Linked DNA regions of Homo sapiens: region 1 is linked to region 2. Evidence: promoter capture Hi-C in human tissues and cell types (Jung and others, 2019). All regions are on one chromosome and are shown on one strand. The core of a region is centred on a gene start or on the middle of the fragment in contact, and the rest is flanking DNA. Distances in the headings are between cores, read along the strand shown.

Region 1 (5,347 bases), core at 416-2,915, 160 kb after region 2:
CTCCTATTTTTGTCTTCCACTCTTTTCTAACCTTTTAGTTGATTTTGATTGAGATTTTATATAATTCCATTTTCTCTCCTTTCTTATCAGGTCAATCACATTCTTTTTTTTAACCTTTTTTTTAGTAGTTTTTCTAGAGTTTGCAATATAGATTTACAACTAATCTAAGCCCACTTTTGAAAAACACTACACCACTTCACAGGTAACGTGAGTACCTTAAAACAACCAAATAAGCCTAATTACCCCTCAGTCCCTGTGTCATTGCTGTCATTCATTTCATTGATATATCAGCAGACATAAATGTGTGTGTGCAAATATATATAAAACATTAAATACATACATGAACATACATGATCAAATGCATTGTTGCTGTTATTATTTTGAACACATTTACCTATCAATCAGGTCAATTAAGGTTATGAAAAATCAAAGCTTCCATTTTACCTTCACTTCTTCCTTTCTCAGAGCTTTTTTTTTTTTTTTTTTTTTGACGGAATTTTGCTCTTGTTGCCTAGGCTGGAGTGCAGTGGCATGATCTTGGCTCACTGCAACCTCTGCCTCCTGGGTTCAAGCGATTCTCCTGCCTCAGCTTCCCCAGTAGCTAGGACTACAAGCATGCACCACTATGCCCGGCTAATTTTGTATTTTTAGTAGAGACGGGGTTTCAACATGTTGGCCAGGCTGGTCTCGAACTCCTGACCTCAGAGGATCCACCCACCTAGGCTTCCCAAAGTGCTAGGATTACAGGAGTGAGCCACTACACCTGGCCCTCTTTGTTTTTCTAATGCAGATCTGAGATTCTGGCCTTTTTATTCTCCTTCTCTCTAAAGGATCTTTTAAAATATTTTTTGTAAGACGGGTCTACTGTCAACAAATTCCCTCAATTTTTGTTTGTCTGAGAAAGTCTTTATTTCTCCCTCACTTTTGAAGGGTAATTCTGCAGGGTACAGATTTCTGTGCCGGGGTGTTTTTTCCTCTAAATACTTCAAATATTTCACTGCACTCTCTTCTTGCTTACTTGGTTTCTGAGAAGAAGACAGAATTAATTCTCATCTTTTTTCCTCTACAGGTAAAGTGTTGGGTTTTTTTCCTCCCTTTAGCTTTTTTCAGGACTTTTTTTTAATCCTTGCTTTTCTGTGTTTGAAAATAGCATGTCTAGGTGTAGGCTTGGGGTCACAGACCCTGCTTGGTGAGCTACACTTCATGGATAGGTAGTTTGGTGTCTGATATTAATTTGTGGAAGTTCTCAGACGCTATTGTTTCCAGTATTTCTTCTCTTCCTTCTCTCTTTCTTCTCTTGCTGATATTCTCATTAATCTTTGTTACACCTTTCGTGGCTGTCCCACAGCCCTTTGATACTATGGTCTGTTCTTTTCATTCTTTGTTCTTTTTGCTTTTCAGTTTCCAGAGTTTCTATGGGTGTGTCCTCGAGCTCACACGGTCGTTCCTCAGCGGCGTCCAGTCTACTAATAAGCCCTGCTCATTTCTGCCCCTGCATTTTTATCTCTTCTGTTTCTTTTTCCTTCTTTCTTAGGACTTCTATCTCTCTGCTAAAATTGCCCATCTGTTCTTAAGTGCTGCCTGTTTTACCCATCAGAGCCCTTAGCATTTTAATCATACTCATATTCACGGGAACAAAACCAAACTCTGTAAAATATTTTAAGAGGTTGATTCTGAGCCAAGATACAAGTGACCTTGGCCTGGGGTCCTCAGAATGTGTGCCCGAGGCAGTCGAGTAACAGATTGGTTTTATACATTGTAGGGAGCCAAGAAATGTGGGTAAAATCACAAATCAATACATGAAATGTGTACGTTGGTTCAGCCTAAAGAGGCAAAGATTCTTGAAGTTCTTGGTGGGGGAAGGCTTACAGGTCATAGGTGGATTCAAAGATTTTCTAAATGGCAGTTGGTTTAAAAAGTGAAACTTTGTCTAAAGACTTGACGTCAGTAAAAGAAATGCTTGAGTTAAGGTAAGGGGGGCCATGGAGGCCAAGGTTCGTGTTAAGTTGACGAAGCCTCAGTGGTGGCAGCCCTCCGAGAGGATAGAAGGTCAGTGTCTCTTTTTGGATCTTGAAAGGCGACAGACTCTCAGTTAATCTCTCCTAGATCTGGGAAGGCCTGGCTGCATTAATGGAGATTCTTTGGAGATGGCAAAATTTCCCCCACAAATGACAGCTTTGAAGGGCCATTTCAAAATATGTGAAAGAAATACATTACATTTCGGAGTAAAATGCTTTGATTTCTTTCAGGGCCTGCTGTCTGACATGTGATGCTATACCAGAGTCAGTTTGGAAATTGGTATCTGATTGCTACAAGTCTGTTTTGTCAGCCTAGTGCTCTCCACTTTAAAGTTAGTGCTGGTCATGTTCCTAAACTCCAAAAGGGAGCGGGTATAATGAGACATGCATGACCTCCTGACCTCCTGACCTCCCAACCTCCCGACCTCCCTTCCTATCACGGTCAGGAATTCCATTTTTCACGTTTCTCTGAGGTCCCCTTGGCCCTGAGAGGGTCTGTCCAGTTGGTCGGGGGCTTAAGATTTTATTTTTGGTTTACAGTTTTATTTATTTATTTATTATTTTTTGAGATGGCATCTCACTGTGTGGCCCAGGGTGGAGTGCAATGATGCAATTTTGACTCACTGTAACCTCCACCTCCCGGGTCGGAGTGATTCTCCTGACTCCTCCCGAGTAGCTGGGATTACAGGCATGCATCGCCATGCCCAGCTATTTATTTTTAGTTTTAGTTTTGTTTTTTGTATTTTTATTAGAGACGGGGTTTCACCATGTTGGCCAGGCTGGTCTTGAACTCTTGGCCTCAAATGATCCACCCGCCTCAGCCCCCCAAAGTGCTGGGGTTACAGACGTGAGCCACTGCGCTCGGCCACAGTTGTTTTAAATTCACTGTCTGATCATTCTAAAATCTCTGCCATGTCTGGTTTTGTCTCTCCAAATTGTGCTTTTTTGCCTTTTAATATGCCTTATAATTTTTTTGATATGCAGACACAATGCGCCAAATGCAAGAAACTTCCATACGGACCTTGGTGATGTGGCGGTGCGGCGCTGGGTAGGGGAGAGCAGCCTATAGTCCTGCGAGTAGGTCTCCGGCTTCCCGAGAGCCTGTGTCTCACTTCACAAGCACACGCCTCTGTTGTCCCTCCCAGCTTAGATGGGACAGAACAGCCTCAGTGGGCTGAGCTGGGTATTTCCCTTCCCTTGGGGAAGACCGTGACATGTGGAAGGTGACCTTGTGTTTCAGAGGTCGGGAGGCCAGATCAAGGGGTGTCTACTCCAGAAAGATCACCACGAACTTCTGAACAATGAGGTCCCATGACTGAGCCTGTGCCGAGCACAGAGGCAACTGGTGGTGGTCATGCTGCCGATGGACAGATGATGCTGGGGCCTGGGAGCGACTCTGGGGGAGGCCACAGGGCAGGTGCTTGTCTCCAGGGCATGGAGCCAGGAAGTCTTCCCACCGGAGGCCACCAGCAGAGGAGAGCATTTCCTTCCATTCCTGGTGGCTCCAGCTGTCCCCATCCCGAATACAGAATGATTGTCTGTCCCAAAGCACCTCCGGAACCCGGCACAGGTGCCACTGAGCCAGGCGGTGCCCCAGCGCAGCTCTCTCATTCCATGAGGTTCCGCTTCACAGCCCCAGGTAAGCCCAGTGCTGAGAGGCTGCTGCCTCCCACCTGAAAGAAGGAGCAGCCCAGCCCCAGCCGCAGGGGCACAGGGATGGCAGGGATGGCAGGGCTGGAGGGAGGCTCCGCAATGGCAGTGAGAAGTGGCCTCTCTGTCCAGGGACTTCAGCGGGCTCCATATGTTCTCCAGGTCTTGGCACCTAGTGACTCAGGACACCCAGCAGCTGAGGACATGGCCACCGGCCCTCTGGGTGTGCAGAGCTTGTTGGCAGAGCCACACCAAGATGGCCCAGGCAGAGTCCACACTGTGCAGGCCGGGCTTGGGTGTGCAGGGAACTCTGAGGACCCTTCCAGATGCTCCAACCGAAGGACACACACGCCCCTCCCCCAACCCAACCCCCACCCATACCCCTCCCCCTCCCAGCCCACGTGTGCCCTCCCTGCACACACGCAGCCTGTGGCTCTGCCTCAAAGGCCCTCTCAGAGCAGGGCTGGAACAGGTGTGCTGAGTTTTCTCCAGCAGGAAACAAAGGAGAGCGTCTTGGGAATTCTGGAATTACAAACACACCCAGGGGGCTCCAAGAGGGGTGCATGGGCCCTGGACAAATGCTCGAGGGGCAGCAGCAGGGTAGAGGCAGCATCCCGGGGTCCTCAGGTCCCAACTTCAGCAGCTGGAGCCAGAATCAGCATCCTCAAATGCCCTTTGTGTTAGTCAGGGTTCTCTAGAGGGCCAAGACTAATTGGATGGGTGGATGTGTGAAGGGGAGCTTACTAAGGAGTACTGAGTCACACAATCACAACGGGAAGTCCCACAATGGGCTGTCTGCAAGCTGAGGAGCGGGGAAGCCAGTCCGAGTACCAAAACCTCAAAAGTAAGGAAGCTGGCAGTGCAGCCTTCAGTCTGTGGCCGAAGGTCCAAGAGACCAAAAGCTGAAGAACCTGGAGCCTGATGTCTGAGGGCAGGAAGCATCCAGCATGGGAGGAAGATGAAGGCTGGGAGTCTCAGCGAGTCACCTCATTCCTTCTCCTGCCTGCTTTATTCTAGCTGTGCTGGCAGCCGATTAGATGGTGCCCACCCAGATTGAGGGTGGGTCTGCCTCTCCCAGCCCACTGACTCAAATGTTCATCTCCTTTGGCAACACCCTCACAGACAGACCCAGGATCAATACTTTGCATCCTTCAATCCAATCAAGTTGACACTCAGTATTCACCATCACACCCTTCCATGTGGGAAGGCATTGGTGGGGTCTGGGAACCTTGGTGGGGTCTGGGATGGGAAGATGAAGGACAAACCCGCCCACATCCATGAGGCACTCCAGCTCTGCAGAGCTTAGGATGCGGGTTCTTTAAATGTCTCCCACCACCCACACAGCCATACCCCCACCCAGGCCTGCCCCGGGCGCCGAGTGGGCAGTGCAACGTGGTGCCTGGGGCTGCACAGAGCCTATCCGGCCATGTCCTTCCTTGGTGAGCTCGGCAGCAGTGGGTCATCCCGCGTGGGGGCTTCCTGGAGCCGGCCCCTTCCTGCACTCAGGGAAGATGCCTCCCACCCAGAAAGCATGGCAGCATCTGCACAGGCCAGCTGGAGAAGCTAAACAGATAATTACCTCCACCAGCGTCGTGGTGAGCCCAGTTATTACAGCGCTGATTAATTACCTCCAACACACACACTGAGGGACACTGAAGCTGCAGGAAAGAGCGTTGGCC
Region 2 (5,174 bases), core at 709-3,208:
GAAAATATCTAGGAAGTTAAGATTCCAAGTTTCACCAATACAAGGTTCACCAATACAAATAGATTCTATGGCAAAAAAAAAAAAAAAAAAAAAAAAACTAAGCATCTTCTAAGTTGAAGATCTCAATACACAGAATAAAACATCAGTCATGGAAAGGGGCTGGTAATTCAGGGCACCGTCTCTCTAATTAAAATAACTGAGACCTCATAAGGCACTAATAAAATGCATTGCTCAATGACATGGAACGTTTCAGTACCTATTGTTTTAAAATCGTAAAAGCATTTGTGATGTTCCTGTTACATGAAAATGTTCTTCTGGTTGTACATATTCTTACTTTACAGAAGCTGGGTAGCACAAAAATATTTAAAAGATTAATGCTAAGGTTTTTTAAATTTTCTTTTAAATTTATATAAGTGAAAAAATGCAGTTTTTTAAAGCAGAATTTAAAAAATGTAGTTCCTTGACATTATATACCTCTAGTGGCAGCACTCTGATATAACACCCCTCCAAAATACGGCAAAAACTACCAACGTTTCTTGAATAAAATCCAAAATAAACTGCATCACACATAAAAATACAATATCCAGTGCTGCATATGTGATGTATCATTAAGTCTAAAGACCAATTTAGCAGGAGTTTAACAACATCTTTTAGAAAAGCTCACAAGATAATATTGGAATTAAATTAATCAAATGGTGTATTCTAACATAACACCCGTTTGAATATGCTAATGAGGTCAATCCTTGGAATAAAATGCACGCTATTCCCTGATTTAAATGCATCTGCATAGTTAGCTGACAATGAATCTTGCCCAAACCAGCCCGCCTAGCTCTGCTGCACCATTTATCAAAGGTTCAGTCACTTTTTCTTTTTAATCCCATGTCTTAAAAGCCAAACTCTAGTTCTAAAGTGCAGTGTGGCATTAGCGAATGTGGTGGACTCCGGCAGGCCTGGGGCAGGGGAATCTCCGGTAACATCCCTCAGTACCGAAGGCAGGATTTCCCGGCCACTTCCGTCGGTTGGAATTCTCTTAAGCATTGCCCTGAGTCTATTTTCAAATGAAAGGGGGAAAAACCCAAACCAGATTAGAATCTGAAACAGCTGAAACAGCTATCGATTTCCAGCTTGCTTTCAAGTCTGGCAGAGACTGTGAAAGTCCTAACTTCTCCGCGATGTCAGCCACGGCCCGCGGCGGTCACGGAGCCACTTCAGCACCTCGCGATGGACAGTGACCCCCGGCGTGGCGCGAGTTCCCTGCGGTCCCCACGCGGGCCTGGGCGGCGGGTCCCTCCACGGCTCCGTCCAGACACCCGGAGGCACCTGCCAAAGCTGCGGAGGTGGACGACCGGGCGTCCAAGCACGAACTTTCTCGCCGAGGCACGGCTGCCGGGCTCCGTCCTGAGGGTTTGGGGCGGCGAGGACCGCCGGGGAGGAGGGCGCGCGAGCCGGAGGCCAGAGCCGGGCCGGGCAGGGCGCGCCCAGGAGCAGGGGAGACGGCGACCCGGGCCGAGGCGGGACGGGGACACGTTACCTGCCCGTGGAGCGCGGGGAAGGGGTGCGCGGCGGCGGCGGCGGCGGAGTCTGGCGCAGAGGGCAGCGGCAGCAGCGGGAGCACCGGCTCGCTCGGGGCCGGCCAGCCGGGGAGACCGGGGAGCAGCGGGGCCGCGGGCGGCGGGGCCGAGGCGAGCAGCACCGGGGGAACCACGACCCCCGCGCTGAGCCGGAGCAGCCCGGCCGAGCCCGGCACCATCCAGACCCAGGGCGGCGGCGGCGGCGGCTCTGCGTCCATCGGCCAGAGGAGAGGCTGCCGCCGCCGGGGCTGCTGCTGCTGCAGCTGCCGCCGCCGCCGCTGGAACCTGGCGCCCGCCTGCATCCTACATCCCCGCGCTGACGGCGGCGGCGGGGGCGGCGGGCGCCCGAGATGCTGGGCCGGCGGCGGCGCGGCTCCGGAGCGAACTCACTTGGCTCCGCGGCGCGGCCGCTCGCTCCGCCCCTGCCCCGCGCGGGAAGCTCCTCCTCCTCCCGCCCGCGCCGCCGCCGCCCCCGGACCCGGCCCCCGCCCCGGTCCCCGCCCGCCCGCGCCCCTCCCCGCCGGACCCCGCCCCGCCCTCGCGCTCCCCGGCCCTGGCCGGGGTCTCCTCCCCGCTGCGCCCCTGGACCCGGGCGGCCGCGGAGGACGTGGGTGGGAGAGGGCCGAGGGCGCGCCCGGCTGGGCTCCCGCCGATGCCGGCCCCCTGGTGGCCTCTGGCCCTCTGGGACCCAGCGCACCGCGAGGGAGGCTCCGGGCTCCGCACTCAAGGGCAAGCGGAAGCCGAGGTGGCGGCGCCGGAGCCAGGCATGTCCCGCTGCCCAGCGCGGGGCTGAGGGCGCAGACGGGGACCGCGCGAGCCGCTCTCTACCTGGCCTCCTCGGAGTCCAGGGCGCGGAGGGTACTGGGCTGCGGATCCGGCGCAGGCGGCCCCGGACGCTGCTAGGCGCGGGCGGATTTCTGTTGCACAAATGGGCCAAACAGGTTCGTAAGGCCCCCGCGGGTCCCCTGGCCCGGAAGTTGAGCCGCGGGTGCCTGGTCTGAAGTTCCGCGCCCCACAGTGGCCCGCGGGCCTCGGCGGCTCCTGCCCTACGCCCTCCAAGGCACCAGGCAGGTGGCCCCAGGGCCTTTGCCCACGACACCCCCTGGGTGGGGCAGGACCACCCCTCTGTGAATTCGTCCTGGATGCCCCCAGGCACAGTCTGTACTCCTCCCTCCCCCAGCACACGCGGCCTCTGACGCTGCACGCCGAGCTTCCTGGGACCCAGGACGAACCGGGCTCCAAGGACCCTCGCTCCGCCCGGACCACACGCAGGCAGCGCCGGCCGAGCCGAGCCTGGGTCCGCACTGGCCACGCGCAGCCACCGCCAGACGGCGCTAGCCCTCCCCCGCTGTAGACCCTGCTTCGGAGGCCGCCAGCCTCCTCCCCATCCCGGGTCCACAGCTTCAGTGCAGCCCCTGGCGACGCGCGCTGACAGCTGGGCAGAGACTTCCGTGCGCTGTAAACCCCTTAGGTCGCTAAACCCAGGAAACCCAAGCACAGCTAATGCCAGCGCGAGACCAGTGTTGTTAGAGGCATTTGAAGGGTCTTTCTGGATGCAAAAGGCAGCATTATGATCCATGCATTTAAGAACTTGCATGAAAAACCCTCCCTGACCTGGGTGGGAGAGCAGGCACCCACCCACCCAGCGGCACTGACACGCCTGGTACTCCAAACCCGTGTTCGCATCACCTCCCACCTGTCCACTGCCAACCTCCTGAGATGGCCTAAAGCACCCGAGTGCTTTTAATTTGCGTCTAGGGTTGTTTCCTCATTATCCTGATTTGCTTAATTTCCTCTTGGCCTGGCCTGATTTCTTTTAGATCTGGGCATATGCTGATTTACATAGCTGGCGCCTCCATATTTTCCTCCACGAAAACCAGTTTTCAATTAGCAAGTTTATCTCTCTCTTTGATGCAAAAGTACTGGCATTTTTTTTATTCACCTAAAATCAGAAAGCTCTGCACATTAGAAGGCTGTTACTATTCACTTACACCCTTAATTTATGTGCATATATTAGTATGTGCACATGTGTTATAAATGTGTTAGTTTAATGGTCAGAGCCAGATCAGGATATTGGGGAGGCGTCTCCAGGCAGGCTCACATGCCCCTGCCACCCCCCACCTCCCCCACCGCATAGTCCCTTTTGCACAGGAGATTCTCCTTCCTTCTGCTTGGAGGCAGAGACAGAAGGCCAGGGGTGCTCGTGCCTGGCTTGCATGCTGTTCTCTGCAAAAGCAGGGTTTTGCGTGTGTGGCCCCCAGGTTCCTGGGAAGGTAGGGTTGGCCACAGTCTGTGGGAGCTGTAGCACTCCTTTGGGGAATCCCAGCCCCATCCCCACTGTCCTAGAAAGGGTTCTGCTGAAGTCCGTTTTTGCCAGCACCCCTCCGGGCTTCCTGATGCTCTGAGCTCAGGACCCCTTGAGCCACTACTTGGCTCTGAAGAAGAGCTGGAAAGTCGAAAGCAGCTCTTGACTCAACCACAAAGCGGCCTAAACTCTTGCTATTTCCTGCCACAAGCTTGACTCTCCTTTTGTATGACAATGCTTGGGAGCCCTTTTCTGTACCATTCTGTGTGCTAAATTATGGGAAAACAGCCCTCAACGACGCAGGCACGGCCATTTCCACTAATCGTTGCTAGGGCCAAGGACCCAGCACAGGGCTTCTCCCCCTCCTCCTGGCTCTCATTTCTGTCAGATTCTTTTCAAGGTTTGCCTCTCATCCCGTTTAACCCGGGAACCTTCTACACCCTCATGGATAGGAGAAGCCCCCTCATAGATACACTCATTTCAATGATTGTTTAGAAGGACCGCCTCCATGAACCGGTTCTGCAAATGTCATTTGTACATCTTGAGGATGGTTGAAAGAGCGAAGGCAAAGAAGATGCAAAGAAGACAGCTGTCACACAAACAAGCAGGATGCCACCTTCTTCCTGGGGACCAGAAGCCAGGTGAATGTCTAGCTTTGAGCTGGGACTCTCTGCCAGAGAGATGTGTGCTGGCAGGCACATCTCCCTCCCTGTGAGTGCCCCCAGAGGTCAGCCCTGGGCAGACAGGTGGCAGGCACCCCATAAACTCGCCCTTTGTTTCCCTGTAAAAATCAGTGAGAAATTTGCTTTATAAAGCATCTTAGGTACAGTCTAGTCTCCAGCTCTCCTATCCAATAAAAACAACCTTAAGTCTTTCCATGTTATTTGGGCAAAACCAGCAGAAATTTCCTGCTAAGCTGAGACAGGATATCACCTAGGAAGAGGAGATCCGCAGCAGGGAAAACGTGTGAATTACCTACATGTGCTAATGAGTTCCCGATTGTTTATTACCTTTCAGGAAAAAATCATGGGGAAGGTTTCAGAGACATCAGTGGAATAAGATTTTGAAGCCCATAGAATATTTTTTTCTTTTTGGAAGTTATTTTATTTTGTTTTTCTAAGTAAAACCTAATAGAATCCCAAAATGGGAGAGATGAAAACATTTCCTTCCAGCCCTGCAGAGTTAAAGTAAACAGCAGGGAAACAGGAGGGAGGTCTAGGCCCTGCATATCACCTCGGAGGTTCCCTGCACCACCCACCGCCCACGCTGCCAGAACTTCTTTCCAAAGCAATTGCCAA

The links. Contacts are between HindIII fragments. The study calls those that stand out against the background at their distance.
Region 1: a contact is called between a fragment that was not itself captured here and the fragment with the promoter of TCERG1L in region 2, in 3 of the 25 tissues and cell types used here (H1 embryonic stem cells, mesendoderm cells and thymus).

What each region holds. Positions count from the first base shown.
Region 1 is chr10:131,470,198-131,475,544 of GRCh38, forward strand. No RefSeq gene overlaps it. Among named protein-coding and RNA genes, the nearest start is that of TCERG1L, 160 kb to the left of the region's middle. The HindIII fragment of the contact is 6,268 bases long and covers 1-4,799 here.
Region 2 is chr10:131,309,763-131,314,936 of GRCh38, forward strand. TCERG1L (transcription elongation regulator 1 like) reads right to left here and starts at 1,959. Exons shown (of 12, transcript NM_174937.4): 1 at 1,532-1,959. The coding sequence starts at 1,873. It overlaps LOC101927461 (a long non-coding RNA gene), which reads left to right and starts at 2,094. Exons shown (of 3, transcript XR_242763.6): 1 at 2,094-2,512; 2 at 4,372-4,517; 3 at 4,894-5,174. The HindIII fragment of the contact is 8,672 bases long and covers 1-5,174 here.